Linked DNA regions of Homo sapiens: region 1 is linked to region 2. Evidence: promoter capture Hi-C in human tissues and cell types (Jung and others, 2019). All regions are on one chromosome and are shown on one strand. Each heading gives the region's core, a stretch centred on a gene start or on the middle of the fragment in contact. The rest is flanking DNA. Distances are from core to core; before and after follow the strand shown.

Evidence for each region. The method cuts DNA at HindIII sites, captures the fragments that hold promoters and counts their contacts. A contact is called where the count stands out against the background at its distance.
Region 1: a fragment that was not itself captured here is called in contact with the fragment with the promoter of GABRG3 in region 2 in 2 of the 25 tissues and cell types used here (dorsolateral prefrontal cortex and small bowel).

What each region holds. Positions count from the first base shown.
Region 1 is chr15:27,163,835-27,166,534 of GRCh38, reverse strand. All of the region lies in intron 3 of GABRG3 (gamma-aminobutyric acid type A receptor subunit gamma3), which reads right to left. Among named protein-coding and RNA genes, the nearest start is that of GABRG3-AS1, 3.9 kb to the right of the region's middle. The HindIII fragment of the contact is 3,407 bases long and covers 1-2,700 here.
Region 2 is chr15:26,969,923-26,972,622 of GRCh38, reverse strand. It overlaps GABRG3 (gamma-aminobutyric acid type A receptor subunit gamma3), which reads right to left and starts at 1,442. Exons shown (of 10, transcript NM_033223.5): 1 at 1,035-1,442. The coding sequence starts at 1,087. The HindIII fragment of the contact is 15,270 bases long and covers 1-2,700 here.

The DNA of each region.
Region 1 (2,700 bases), core at 190-2,689, 190 kb before region 2:
GCAGGCAGTGGCCTCCCTGCAAGACCTTTATTACCCTAGAGGCTCCCCTGAAGAGTCTCAAGCTTGGAAGAAGAAGACAGAAACACCTTTCACTCTTCCTACAAAATAACAAACCACTCTAAAACCCAAAGAAGAAGATGTTGTCCACATTAGGGCATTTCTTAAATTGATTTTTTAAAAGAGCAAATCAATACTAAAATGGAATTAATGGTGATACTCTATTTGCAATCAGCTGAGATACCATAAGAAAATTTGTTCAAAGAAAAGAAGAATACACTTCTTTTTGTACTTTTCCCCTCTGTTATTTCTGAATATTATCTGAATATTAGTTGAGAAAGTTCACTATCTCATATGGAGATGGATATGGATGCATTTTCCATCCAACTTCCTTCTAAAATAAAAGGTGTGTCTGTCCCTGTTACTACACTCTAATGTGAATCTCATTCTGCAAGCTTCGCATTGCCTAAAGACGTAATCAGAGCCACTGAGAAAGGCTCAGAAGGCTCACTGTGCTGGTTCGCTGCATCCCACCCCATCCCACTGTCTGGTGTCTTGCTCTCCCCTGCTTTGTAGCTTTGCATGTCTTCTTACATCTCTCACTTCTTGGACTTATGCCATGCCCACCCCTACCTAGAAAACAGCCACTCCTCCAATACTGAGGTTGCCTTTTCTTCCTCTAGGGCTAGCAACCACCTCCTCCTTTGCGACAGGTATGACAGGTGCCCCAGACAGGTACCATCTCACTGTCAATAGCATCCTCTGCTGGCCTGATCCTCCTCTCACTGACTGGTGAGCTCCCTAAGGACCAGCAGTTTATATTGGTTTTCACAGGCATGACATGTGCATGGCAGACTTAAATTATTGTGTGAGGAAAGAACTGTAGGAAGAGAGGGGAGACAGAATGCTAGAGCACACATGTTAAAGAGAAAGCAAGCAGAAATGATGCACTTGGGAGATTGAAGAGGAAAGGCAGAAGGAGCTCAGGATGCTAACACTGGAGAAGAACATCTTTGGAGAATGTAAGAGCAATCTTCAAATATTTGAAGGGTTTTAAGGTGGATAAAGCATGACAAGAACTAGAACCTGGATTGACCAGTGAAAGAATGAGGACATTTTCACACAGAATTTTCCAGCATTTCAATTGTCAAAGATGCCCTGACACAGAGGCTTTGTCATGGAGGTCATTGTGTGCTTGGTGGGGATCAGCGCCTGGGCGGAGGTGGAATGCTGGGTTAGGTGACCTCGCCAGCACTGCCCAATGCTGGAAGTCTAATTGTCGGTAAACATACCACCAGTAACAAGGTACTCTGGCATGAAGCCCTACTCCATCTGCCTCATATCAGGCAAAAAGGAAAGAAAATTATCTGGGAGAGGAAACTAAATAGCCCTGAATGGTTGATCTCAAGAACCATCAGTTTTTGGTATGTCAAATTCTAAATTCTATATTTTTTTCAAATTTCACTAGTAAAAATATTCAGAAGCACTTTTGCCATCCTAAATGTCTTGGACAACATTTATATGAATGGTTTGAAAAAAGTTCTTATCCAAGATTGATTACTGATCTGCTTTTGGAACTGGCTTTCTAAACACTTCATGAAGCAACATCGCTTGATACGAGAGACATCACTTTCCACTGAGAGGAGCCCACCTGTATTAATATCACTTCCTTATTTTGTAAAGAACTAACGAATGTGTACAGATTATGATGAGAAGATCCCCTTTCAAAACAGTAGTCAGTGCAATACTTGATACTTAATGTCTAAAATGATTTCACCAATGTGATATTACAGCCACAAAAGGTTCGACGTAAATCTCATCATCATAGAGCTATCAGATATTGCAGAATGCAGGACATTTTACCCGTCTAACAGATAACTGCCCTGGAATCTTCAGGAAAGTAAATGTCATGACAAATACATCAAATTGAATAGGAGGGTGCCAATCTAGATCAAAAGAGCCTGGAGAGACACAACAAGTAAAAATGTCAAGGGTGAAGCTTTGATTCCTGGATCAAACCTGGATCAAAGCTATGAAAGATCTTTCAGCTGCAACTGAGAACCCAGTAGTACTATTTGTCTTGTGTGCTAATACTAACACTAATGTGCTAATACCAATTACAGTAACATTAGGGGTAGTAGTATTTTTGGACTGTAGATTTGATACTAAATGACAACTTTGATTTACCGTATTGTGAGTATGCGGGGGAATGTTTTCATTCTTAGGTGGTACATGTGAAATATTCAGGACTGACATGTAATGTCTGCAACTTATTTTCAAAGGATTGGCAAAAGAGAAGCTGTGTTTGTGTGTGTGTGTGTGTTTGGAGAGACAGTAAATGTGGTAAAGGATAACAATTAATCTAGGTGAAGAGTAAATAGGTGTCTATTATACTATTCTTCAGCTTTTCTTTACATTTGAGCATTTTCCAAGTAAAAGTGGGAAAACAATTTTGGAATGTTTATGTGTGAAACATTCTAATTTATTCTATGTGTAATTACAATAAAATTTGCTTGCGAACATGGACATGGGTCCCTCTGACATTTCCTTCTTCCATCCCCCCGTAACTGAATTGGTCCGCTCCTAAGGTGCAGCTGAGCGACACTGGCACCCCTCACAGGCTCTCACAGCCCCTGCAGGGGAGAGATGCCAAGAAGACCTGCACGTTCCCTGCCACACAGAACTGTTTACTTCATGGAATGG
Region 2 (2,700 bases), core at 193-2,692:
TCTGATTCTCTAGCTCCCAGACCCAGGAAATGGAGAAGCGTCAAAACAAGAGGGTTTGGGGGATAGGGGCACGCTGAGCTTCCTAGGGTGGGGAAAGAGGTAAAGGCCAGACACTGCTCCAATTTTCAAATAACAGGACAGTCTGCAAGCTCTAGCCAGAAATCCAGCCAGAGAGACAGAATTAAAGAAACTAAACCCAGAATCTCCAGTTGTGTTTACAGCAACAGGATTTAACCCTTTGGGTCCCACTGTCCTTGTATCCTCATGCGCCCTCTTCATCTCTTCTAGAGTGATTCTAAGCTCCCATTAGCCGGTTGGTGTACTGGGAGGAAGGTTGCGGAATTTATGGTGAGATGATTTCTTACATTACCAGGCAGAAGCCTTATTATCCATTTCGACATGCGTGCTTTATGGGGGTGGGAGTGCGTGTGTTCCTCTGTGTGAAAGTGGCTGATGTGGAAGGTGTGTGTGTGTGTTTGCAGGACCTGGGAGGGGAGTCCTCCCAGACAAGCAGGGCTTTCTTCTGCCCACCTGGTTCCAATCCCCCCGCGCCTGCCTCCAATGCATTAGCTCTTTCCAGCCCGGTCTAAACTAGGCAGTTAGAACCACGGTTCCCGGGTTCTTGGAAATTTCAGAGTGATGGAAATGACAGAGAATGTCAGCCAAAGTGTGTGTGTGTGTGAGCCCCTGAAACAGCTGAGGTGGGAATTAGGGGTCGGTAAGGAGCCAGAAATGGCCCCTGCCCCCTGAACCTGGTTCTCAAAACCCCTTAAAACCACCAGATCCTAAAAGCGTCAGGAGACGAGCCCATTAATCTGAGTCCCCACACTCCCGGCTGCAGAGGAAAAAGCAGATGACCGTGTCCAAGGGAGCTGGGACAGGTGAGGTGCAGACCGACTTCCCAGTCCCCTCCCGGCCCGCCGTGCCGCAGCCCAGCCGACGGCTGGCGCGCCAGGGACTCCAGCAGACAGCGCCCCCCGCCGCCCTGTCGCCCAGCTCGGGGCCTCCGGGGATGCGGCCCCCGCGCCACTTACCGCGCGTGCAAGCCCGAGAACAGGCAGAGGAGGAGCAGCAGCTTCGGGGCCATGGTGCCGTGGAGCTCGGGGCGCAGGGTCCGGGGCCTCGGCCGGGCGCGGCTTCCTCCGGCGCGGACCTGGTCTCCGCCGGCCCTCTTTGCCCTGGCTTCCTCCGAGGCTGCTGGCCGCGGCGGGCGGGACAGGTATCTACTCTGGCGCTGGCCGCGCCCCCGCGGGGCGCACACTGGACGCACACGGGACGCCGGGCCACCGCGGCGCGCCGCCCCCACCCGCGCACTAGCGCCGGTCCGCGCAACCGGGCGGCGGGAGCAATGGGCGCCGGGGACCCCCTGGCGCGGCGCCGCCCACCCCGCCTGGAGCCGCGAGCGGGCGCGGGTGCCCAGGCCGGGGCTGTGTGCGCTGTGCTGGGAGGTGGGGGCAGCTGGGCGGCTGTCCCCTGGCAGCGCCTCCGAGGCGGTCCCGGCGGGGAGGAGTTTCCCCAATTACACGCCTGACAACGCGCAGGGCGAGGAAGGCGAGGTTTGAATGGACTCGGAGTTTGAGGCCAGGAAGGGGGCGGAGCTCCGAGGGGGAGGGGAGGCTGGGGATCCCGCAGGGAGCCTGAAGAAAGGTCCCCGGGGTTGGCACCATGAGAGCGAGCCCGCGGTCCGCCTTCCTCCAGCCATTTCTACCCCAGTGCAGGTTTCCTCCAGCGCTCCCTGACCTCCCGTGCCCGCCGTCGCCCGGGGTTGAGACGGTTTGCCAAAAGCAGCCCTTCCATCGCACTCTTCGTGCTAAGTCGGCTGAACTCCTAGGCACTGATAAGATTCTGTGCTTGGAAAGGTGGCTTTCTGCGGGAATATTTGGGAAAAAAGCACCCCAGATTTATGCCTTTCTTACAGAAAAGAGAGACTAACACATAGCAATAAACAGTAGAGGTGGAAAGGCATGTTAAAGGTAGGAGCTAGAAAGATCCTAAGGCAAGAAGCCAAAGACGTTCCGTTTGGTGGAAGCATGAGGTGCGCCTCATTCCATGTATTTTCATATTCCAAAAACCGAAAATGGCATTTACGCTTTCATTTGTCATAATCATTCAGAAAGTTAGTCTTGCACCATGTAAGTATTGCAATCGCAACAGTGTAGTAAATCCACTAGGAATTTTACATTTCTATCACCCCCAAAAAGTTCTTAGAAAATGTTTTATAACTGCTATTCATAGAATTATGTAAGGGTGTGATAACTGTTTCTTTAATATTGTCAAATAGCTTTGTTCGGCCAGGCACAGTGGCCCAAGCCGGTAACCCCGGCACTTTGGGAGTCCGAGGCAGGCGGATCACTTGACCCCAGGAGTTCGAGACCAGCCTAGGCAATGTGCAAAAACCCTGTCTCTACAAAAAATAGTAAAGAATTAGCTGGGCATGGTGGCATGGGCCTGTATTCCTCTGGTGTGTTCCCCCTTGTTTCTGGATAGGCATGAAGTGGAGGGGAGTGCAGTTGTTAATGACAATATTGTTTTTCAACAATGGAGCTGTCATCTCCCTGGCATCACCTTTCTGTCTCTGTGAGGTGCTGAACTCACCCAGCTCCCCGCCTTTCCAGGACTCTTTCTGGCATTCTCATCCTCCTCTGCCCAGCACATCCCTCCTACTTAGGTGCACATGCCCTATAAGGTCCCCTCTTTGAT